Regions from separate parts of the Homo sapiens genome. Here all the other regions are linked to region 1. The links are contacts of gene promoters, found by promoter capture Hi-C in blood cells and fetal thymus (Javierre and others, 2016). All regions are on one chromosome and are shown on one strand. Each heading gives the region's core, a stretch centred on a gene start or on the middle of the fragment in contact. The rest is flanking DNA. Distances are from core to core; before and after follow the strand shown. Region 1 holds the start of PCBD1 (pterin-4 alpha-carbinolamine dehydratase 1). Region 2 overlaps NODAL (nodal growth differentiation factor). Region 3 has its middle 27 kb from the start of PRF1.

Region 1 (3,221 bases), core at 382-2,881:
ATGTGAGAGGACTTTTCTAATCTGACTCTAAGACTTATTATAAAGCTATAATAATCAAGACAAGGTAGTGTTCTGTCATGACAGACAAACAGATCAATGGAACAGAAGAAAGGGCTCAGAAATAAACCCACATGTATACAGTCAATTGATATTTTACAAAGGTGCAAAGACAACTCAGTGGAGAAAGGAATAACTGAGTCGCCATGTGCAAAAGTGCATCTGGATCTATAACTTGAAGCATATAAAAATATTTACTCAAAGTGGATCACAGACTAAATGTAAAACCAAAAGCTATAAAACATAGGAGAAAACTTTTGATCTTGGGTTAGGCCAAGATTTCTATGTGTACAACATCAAAATAGAAATCCATAAAAGAAACATTTGATATATTGGATTTCATCAAAATTAAGAACGTTTGCTCTTTGAAAGGCACCATAAGATAATGCAAAGAAAATATTTGCAAATCACTGCCTGATCATGTCCTTATATCCAGAATAAAACACCCTCAAAACTCGATAAGAAGACAACCCAATTTCTTTTTTAATGGGCAGGAAATTCAAACATGCTATTCAATAAAAAAAACTTATCCTTAGCAAATAAGTACATGAAAAGACATTCAATACAATTACTAATCAAGGAAACTCAAAACCACAATGAGATACTGCTACACACCAATTAAAATTTAAAAGGCTGACTATATCAAGTGTTGGTGAGGACAGAGAACTGCAACCTTCATACACTGCTGCTAGGAATATAAAATGATACAACCATTTTGCAAAACAGTATGGCAGTTTCCTAATAAGTTATAAAAGTCCACCTACCACATGACCCAGGCATTCCATTCCTAAGTGTTTACTCAAGGAAAATTAAAACATACGTACTTTCGAAGATTTGTGCACCATATTCGCAGCAGCTTTATTTGTAATAGCCAAAAGGTAAACAACGCAAATGTCCAATAGTGAATCGCTAAACAAATTGTAGTCTATCTGTACAATGCAATACTATAAAATAAATTTTACTTAGCCATAAAAGGAAGAAACCATTGATATAGGCAACAACATGGCTGAACCCCAAAACAGTTATCCTGCCTAGTATATACTCTATGGTCCATTTACATAAAATTCTAGAAAATGCAAACTAATTTATAGTGACCTAAAGTACATCAGTGCTTGCCTGGCCAGGTGGTTTCGGGAGGAAGGGGTTACCAAAGGGCAAGGGAAAACTTGCAGGGATGATGATATGTTCATAATGTTGATCTCGGTGATGGTCTCACGAGGGAAACATTAAAATTTATCAAATTGTACACGTTGAATATGTGCAATTTATTGCATGTCAATTATATCCAAATAAGAGATTTTTATAAAGAAAAAAATAGGTATTCTGGCGCCCAGGGCCACCCAGCTGTAAGCGGCGGGGTGGGATTCCAACCCAGAAGCGGGCATTTGGAGCCCTCATGCTTCACCCTAGCTCCCTGAAACAAGCACGGAGGATGGCTCTGAGCAGCGAGGAAAGTGCTGGAAGCAAGCAGGCCGAGCGCGTCCCTGGCTGGGGACGTTAATCATTACCGGAGGGCGGCCCGAGCGCGGCCCCGCCCCGGGACGGCAGCCTGCGCGCCCGGCCGCCGCCTGCCCTCTCCGCTGGCCACCTGCTGCCGCCCGCGCCATGGTGAGTCCAGGGGTGCGCGGCCGCGATCGGGGCAGCGGGGCCGGGGCAGCCGCGGGCGAGGTGGGAGCGGGAAGGGGCGGGGGAAAGTCTTTTCGAGTCCCCTGCGGAGCCGCCGGGGTCCGAAAGTGGGGTCTCTGCCCGGCTCTCTGTCGCTGGCGGCGGGGAGGGGAAGCTGAAGCCCTGAGAGGGGCGGTGGCGGGTTCGAATCCCACCCAGTTGGGAGGCCAGGCCTGCCCTGACCCCGGCCAGTGCTTGTTCCGGGACCCTTCCGGGGGCGGGGCCTACGACCTTCCTGGGCCGGGGAAGACAGTCGTGGAGGAGTCCACGGATCTCGTCCCCTTGGTGGCCCGATTCTGCTTTATACTGGGGTGGGAGCGAGAGGGAGGCTGAGTTTGCGCGCTCGTGTGCGTGCCTGTCCGCTGCCCCTTCCCGCTGGCACTCTGGGTACGGGGTCTGCCTGGGACTCACGCTCTGCGCCGGTATGCTGGCCCCAGAGCCACTCCCCGCGCCGGCTTGAGGCCCGTGCCAGGCCACGGGGGCTTGGTGGCGCTGGAGCAGCCCTCCTCCCGTGAGCTTCCCCCACCCACCCCCGGGGCGGGGGCGGGGGCGGGGCCCTTGCTCTGCTGTAAGCTCGCGAGCTTCATCAGACCATTTCTGGTCCACAGGCCTTCGGAGCAGGCAAGACTGGGAGGGCCTTTTGATAGGAGAGGGACTTGGGGGAGGGAGGATGAGTGGGGCTGTTTGTGAGGGGCGCTGAGGTCCCAGAGATGCAGGCTTGGGAAATCGGTAACCACTCCCCACACCTCGCCAGAGGAGGCAAACGGGGCAGCGTCCCCCTCTCTGTCTCCAGAGCCGGCACCTGGAAGGTTTGTCAGTTCAGCCGCAGGCTGTGCGACCTGGGGGGTTCCAGAAGGCTCTACCGAGAAAGGGAAGCCTCCTAAGAGCTCACCTGGACTCACCCACCCCTTTAAGAGCCAAGGAAGTAAACAGTGGGCTCTGATGCTTTGGCTGACTTCTGGTTGTCTAGATACACGGACCAGGCGGTCAGCCACGGGGAGAAGGCCAGCTCTGGAGTAGAGACCTACCTACTGGGCAGATGATGCAAATCGCTGCTGCCATTCAATCCCTATAGTCATCCAGAGCCGAGGGGAAGAGAGGGGCCAAGCTACATCAGTCCAGAGAGAGCTCACGTTTTCAGGAGGGAAAACAGCAGGGAAAAAAGACGGACTTAGGAAAGCACTGCGATGCTTCAGCTACCCCAAATGCTACCAGGCCCATCACAAGCCTGCTTGCCTTAGGAAGTTTTTTTTTTGTAATGCAGATGACATTTGCTTTATAGCAGTGGAGTTTCCTAAAGTGTCCCATTGGCACCTCATGATGATCTGTGGAGGTGGAGGTTCTGCCAAGAGAGGTACAGCCACCTGGCTGGTAAATGGTGAAAGCGGGTCTCAAAACTCCTGCCAATCAACACATGGTGTCCAGTCTGCAGGCTGCCTCATAAAAGCTAAATCAACCTCCCTCACATTCCCTCCCCACCCCTAAGGGTATCTTTTCAA
Region 2 (3,221 bases), core at 361-2,860, 460 kb after region 1:
GAAGGCCTTGCCCTGGGTGGCAAGATACTTGCTCTATGGTCACAGCTCAGCCACTGGAAGCTGTGCGACCTCAGGTGAGCAATTCACTGTCCAGTCTCCACTTGTAAAAGGAACGCTGGTGAATCCTAATGCATTCATATTAAATGTCTGTTGTCAGGCTCAGAAGAGCCATGAGCTTTAAGCTGTAGACTGAATAGGAAGAGCTACCTTATCCCTACCTCCCTCTAAAGCTTATAAAGCTTGCTAAACCCAGTCCCTGCCACATGCCCTTAATCTAACCTTTATCGGCTCTTTTGTTACTCAGGGTTCTAAGACAGACTTAATTTCAGGTTCCACATGGGAAGCACAGCAAAAGGAGCCTGAGTGAGGCAGCTCTATCCCCAAAAACCCCTGACCACAGTTATCTTCCAGGTAAAAAGACCTCAAAGGCAGCAATTCTGGCTGGGTGCAGTGGCTCATGCCTGTAATCCCAGCACTTTGGGAGGCTGAGATGGGAAGATCACTTGAGTCCAGTAGTTCAAGACCAGCCTGGGCAACATAGTGAGAACCTGTCTCTGTTTAAATAAAACAAACAAAAGAAGCAATTCTGCTCTTAACAGCTTGATCTCATTGAGCATTGCCAAAGCAGGGGCACTTTTTTTGTAGTTTCATGGAGCAAAGGGGCCACTTTATTGGGAATGTGAGCCCACAGTATATCTACCCCATTCTGCTTTCCCAAGAAGCCTACCCACTTATGCTAAAGAAAATGATTCCAATCATTTGTGAACCCTGTTGAGCTCAGACGAACTCAACTGAGGCTTTGGTTGAGTCAACACCATAGTCATGGCCCAGAAAGGGGCTGGATTTGCTGGAGCCAGGCCTGGGCTTGAGAAACCTCAGTGCCTTGATTCCACAACAAAGCTGATCCAGCTGTTCACTGCCTGGACTAGAAATAGACTGCCCAGATCCAACAATTCAGAATCAACAGGATTCTGCATCTGCCCATATACAGAACAGCAGAGCAGGGACAACCTTGTGAGGTCAGCTTGTCTGATCCCCATTCCTAAGTGAGACCCCAGGGAGGCCTCAGGGCCTGACCACACAGCTAGGAGTGGCAGGGCCAAGAGCTGAGCTCTGGTCTCTTGAGCCCTACGGGCACTTACTGCTTAACAGCAACTAGAGGTTTGTGCTCACCTATCTTGGGATCCAAGCCTTAGCCTTTAGAACCAAACATTTGAACCCAATTACACTACTGAACTAGTTCTTAGAAGTGAACATCCCACCCCAGGACTTTCTTACATGGCTGGTGCCAGAGAGCGAAAGGTCAAGCTATTTGTAGCTACAGCTTGTGGGAGTGTTTACAGTCAGCTGTATTGACTCCAAGAACAAACCCTTGACGACAGGGCATTGCCTCATGTCAAATAAAAGTAGTGCACAAAGTAGTGAAACTCTGTGTTTTGCTGACCCCTGCTGAAAGCTCAGTGTTTGCTACGTCAGCAGCAGAGTCATTCTGTTGCCTGGACAGAGTCACTGGGGCAAAGCCTACCTACCCGAGCCTAGGGAATAGCTCCATGCTCTAGGCCATGTGCTTGCTGAAGGCTCTATAAGTCACTTTAAATACTACCTTGGAGAATTGTGTCCTGTCTGAACCTGGGATGTTTTCTGTTGTTTTGATACAGGATCTTGCTGTCAACCAGACTGGAGTGCAGTGGCACAATCATGGCTCACTGCAGTCTTGCCATCCTGGACTCAAGCAATCCTCCTACTTCAGCCTCCCAAGTAGCTGGGACTGCAAGCATGCACCATCATACCCAACTAATTTTTTAGATTGTTTTTTGTCAAGACAGGGTCTCGCCATGTTGCCAAGGCTGGTCTCCAACTTCTCGGCTCAAGCTCTTGTCCTGTGTTGGCCTCACAATGTGTTGAGATTACAGCTGTGAGCCACTGCACCTGGCCTGAACCTAGGGTTTTAAGAGCACTCAAGAGTTATTTTAACTTGCTCTCAAGAAGTGCCAAGTCAGTTGTGAGTGGTAAAAATTGGACACATTACACTCCTTGGCTGAGGAAGTGGGTGGGCCTGGCAGTAGGTAAGCCTGGAGAAATTAGAAACATTGTAAGAAACAGAAACACGGGATCCATAGAGATGTGGGGAGTGGCTGTGACCCTGGGATAGCACCCCTAACCTGGGGTTTATCTCCGTCTTTAAGTCTTCCTTTTCGGTCCGGCGCGGTGGCTCATGCCTGTAATCCCAGCACTTTGGGAGGCTGAGGCGGGCGGATCACGAGGTGTGGAGTTTGAGACCAGCCTGACCAACGTGGTGAAACCCCGTCTCTACTAAAAATATAAAAATTAGCCAGGCATGGTAGCACGTGCCTGTAATCCCAGCTACTCAGGAGGCTGAGGCAGGAGAATCACTTGAACCCAGGAAGCGGGGGTTACAGTGAGCCGAGGTCGCACCACTGCACTCCAGCCTGGGCAACAGAGCAAGATTCAGTCTCAAAAAAAAAAAAGTCTTCATTAGCAGTAAGATCCTTACCTATCCTAATTGCCTTTAGGGCAGAGTAAAGGATGTAGGAAAGCGCTTTTAAGGTTTTGGTCCCATCTTCCCTTAAAGAGATCCTTTAGTCCTTCTATAGGTTCCATGAGTAGGTGGTAGCTGCAGTGCTCAAACCTGTTCCATTCCTAAACTTACACACTTGGAGGGAAGAGGAGAGGGGGCTGAATAATCTCTGGGTGTCCATGTCAACCGGGCTGTGCTTGAGTCCCTTAAATACTGTTTCCTGAGCTGAGTATACTAGGCACTGGGCTCTTTATGACATCAACTGGGCCTGACAACCACCTAGAAAAGTTGTTTCTTAACCTTATTTTAGAGAAAACTGAGGCTTGTAGAATAAGAATTCTGCTGGGTAATTTGGCTACTAAGCAGCACAGCTGGAACTGAAGCTGCCTGACTCCAAAGCCTGTGCCCTAAACCCCTAGACAGTTCCGATGGGAAAGCTTCCTCCAGTCCAGTTTTATTCTGTGGACCTCTGTGCACGTGAAAGAATTCTCATTCTCAGGACTAATACATGAAACCCGCTGGATTAGTTAACAGCAGGGAATCTGACGCTCATGCAGCACAGCTTGGTTTGAGGTAACAGGCATGATGGGCATCTAACCAGTGCTCCCAGGGGCACAGGCAGCCCCTCTTCTGAGAAAGGAAAAGTTGTTTGGGCTTCCTCAGGGCTGGCACTTAAGAGAAG
Region 3 (3,221 bases), core at 426-2,925, 310 kb after region 1:
CATGAAAAAAATCCAACTTCACTATTAGTTAAAAAGAAATAAAATTGAACAAATATGAGATTCCATTCTGAGTCATAAAACTGTGGGCAGTGCTAGCAAGGCTGGGAAAGAGCATGCCCACTCACTGCTATCTGAGACTCTGAAACAGGGCATTTCTAAAGGACAAACTGAAGGTACACATGGAAAGCCTTCAAAATGAAGCTTCCCTTTGTTTAGGAGATAACCAGAGGTTTGCACTTCCATCCACAGATTTGGAGGCACCAACCCAGATGGCTACAGCCTCCTCCATCCACAGGGAAGATTAAGCAACAGTTCCCTGACCCATGACCACCATCGTGGACAGGACCTGCCCCCTCTCTTGAGATGGCAGCATAGGGCAGGGCAAGAACCAGCTCTTAGTCTGCTGGAACTGTACCATGTGAAGCTGGAAACCAGGGTGGTCATTTTCACCAAGCAGTGCCACAGCAGTGCCGGCCTTCAGAGACAAAGCAGGTGCCCAGAGAGGCTGAGACAAGGCAGAGGGTGGGTTGTTCAAGTCTGTGCAAGAAAGCTATTTGGCGAAACACCTGTGAAGAACAAAGGAGGAAACAGAAGGCAACAGGAAGGGCCTTCAAACCACAGTGTGGCTCTAATACCCACAAAAAGAGAGAGGGAAAGAGCCAGAGAAATAAAATCCTAAGCCCCTCAACTGACCAAATGGACCACCTCTTGGCCTAGGGGACCCCCGAGAAACCTTAAAAATGGAGTTCCCGGACATGATGGAACAGGAGGTTGGACAGGCCTCATTATGCCCCCTCCCCCCCTAACCATTAGGCTTTCTTCTCTAAGGGTTAAACAGAAACCACTGCTTCACGCTGGTACCAACCAACTGCCTAACACAGCCCCTCCCCTTTTGCAGCTTGACACAGCAACCGCTAAGCAGTCCCTCCTGATAAAAAAAAAAAAAAACCCTGGCCACAGAGTGGTTCTGGCCAGTCTCCAGAAGCTGCACCCAGAGGGCCTTCGTGTCCTCTGCTTCCCGTTTTAATGTAGAGGGCCTAACTGTAATATGTTTAAATGTTAAGTCTCCACCCCAAAGTGAATCTGGGACACGTGTTACATACATGTTACCCTACTACGAATGCCCTTGCCTCCCCTTTGTGAATATTCATTGCTGCTCCTATAACCTGTTGAATATGTATATCTGGACACCCTATTCAGCGTAAATCCCTGTCTTATTCTCCCCACCTTCGAAGTGTCTGTTTCTGGCTTCTGGCCAGAGGCTACGTTTCCCAGCCTGTCAGAATGACCACCCAGCAGGTTGCAACCCTTTATGAGAAATAAAGCTCTCCTTTCCAAATGTGTATGAACCTCATCTTTCCTCAGTAGACACAACAAGCCTGACACTGCAGGATAGCTCTGGGCAACTCTTGGTCAGACCAATGGGGAGGCTCCCAGCCTCGCTGCAGGATGGAGGGGCAGACACAGCCAGCTCTATATCCCTGCCCTGCTCAGTCAGCAGCCTGTGGGTGGAGTGTGCTGGATGGGGGAGCAAGGCCTTGGCACGAACACTGTGTTGGATCCAGAGGTGCAATTGCTGGAAGGTGGTCCAACTGTTCTCTCTGCAGCAGCAGCAGGTTGTCCTGAGGGGAGAAGTGAGTGGTGCACCCCTATGGAGGACACAGAGGGAGCTTCCAGGACTCCCCGGGCAGCCTCCTAGTCCCAGTCCCTGCTGCATTCCTGCCATGGTCCTCTGCTGGTCATATATATATATATATATATATATATACACACACACATATATATATATATACACACACATATATATATATATACACACACATATATATATACATATATATATACACATATATATACATATATATATACACATATATATACATATATATATATACATATATATATATATATACACATATATATATATATATATATATATATTTTTTTTTTTTTTTTTTTTGAGATAGAGTCTCTCTCTTTCACCCAGGCTGGAGTGCAGTGGCGCGATCTTGGCTCACTGCAACCTCTGCTGCCTCAGCCTCCCGAGTAGCTGGGATTACAGGTGCCTGGCACTAATTTTTATATTTTTAGTGGAGACAGGGTTTCACCATCTTGGCCAGGTTGATCTTGAACTCCTGACCTCATGATCCACCCACCTCAGCCTCTCAAATTGCTGGGATTACAGGTGTGAGCCACCGTACCATGGAGTCATATTTTTTACACTCTCCCTCTTTGCTTAAGCTAGCTGGGGCTGTTTTCTGAAATATGTCACCCAAAGGAGTCTAATTATTACCTGTACAAAGATTTGTGTTTGAAGACATTATTTGAAGTATTGTTGTAAGTTTTAACATTAAAAACCCCAATGCAAGTCTATATATCCTGTTAGAGGTTTGAATTACACAGGTGTATGCATTTGTAAAAACTCATCAAATGGGCTGGGCGCGGTGGCATACGCCTGTAATCCCAGCACTTTGGGAGGCTGAGCTGGATGGATTATTTGAGGTCAGGAGTTCAAGACCAGCCTGGCCAACATGGTGAAAACCCACCTCTACTGAAAATACAAAAATTGTTAAGTAAGATTGGCTAGGTCCAGGTTCATTCTGCCTCTGCACAGTGAATAAATCATGATGACATGGGTTTTGCAAAAGAGAAAGATTTGCAAGGGCAATACATGAGGAGGTGGGAGAACAGCTCTCAAAACCACCCCCACCCGACCCTTGAGGATAAGGCTTAAGGATATTTACAGGTAAGGGAAGTGGGATGATCTAAATCATGGGGACAGGTGATTGGCAGTGGGAAAAAAATGAAGTGACAGGTTCCTCCTGAGCAAGGGTAGTCAGGCTTCACGGCACTTCACAGGGCACATGCAACAAAAATGGTGGCATTTGCATGATCTGAGGGTGTTGTCGTCGGCCCTCTGACTTCAAAAGGCCACCCCTTGGGCACTTGGGCAGTCTAGGGTGAAGGATCGGGGTCTCAGCTAGTTTGAACTAGACAGGCGCTGGCCAAGTTCCTGAAAAACACTGAAGTGAATATTACCATGGTGACCTATGAATGTTATCTATAAAGTAGCCAGTGAAGGTTAAGTTCCAGTGTTCAGCGGTGAGGCCTTCAGCTACCACAGCCTTCAGCTTCATAGAAAAAGCTTGGGAGGGGGAGAATTAAAAAAGCAACCCAAAGCAAGCAGGGCAGGTAGACCTGATGGAATTAGCCCATTTTCA

Evidence for each region. The method cuts DNA at HindIII sites, captures the fragments that hold promoters and counts their contacts. A CHiCAGO score of 5 or more calls a contact.
Region 2: a fragment that was not itself captured here is called in contact with the fragment with the promoter of PCBD1 in region 1 in 1 of 17 cell types (M2 macrophages); the score reaches 6.2 in M2 macrophages.
Region 3: a fragment that was not itself captured here is called in contact with the fragment with the promoter of PCBD1 in region 1 in 1 of 17 cell types (megakaryocytes); the score reaches 5.3 in megakaryocytes.

What each region holds. Positions count from the first base shown.
Region 1 is chr10:70,886,975-70,890,195 of GRCh38, reverse strand. PCBD1 (pterin-4 alpha-carbinolamine dehydratase 1) reads left to right here and starts at 1,631. Exons shown (of 4, transcript NM_000281.4): 1 at 1,631-1,665. The coding sequence starts at 1,663. RefSeq lists silencers at 1,515-1,764, 2,095-2,374. The HindIII fragment of the contact is 14,850 bases long and covers 1-3,221 here.
Region 2 is chr10:70,428,894-70,432,114 of GRCh38, reverse strand. NODAL (nodal growth differentiation factor) reads left to right here. Exons shown (of 3, transcript NM_018055.5): 3 at 1-179. Among named protein-coding and RNA genes, the nearest start is that of NODAL, 11 kb to the left of the region's middle. The HindIII fragment of the contact is 2,737 bases long and covers 242-2,978 here.
Region 3 is chr10:70,573,872-70,577,092 of GRCh38, reverse strand. No RefSeq gene overlaps it. Among named protein-coding and RNA genes, the nearest start is that of PRF1, 27 kb to the left of the region's middle. RefSeq lists an enhancer at 621-750. The HindIII fragment of the contact is 2,944 bases long and covers 204-3,147 here.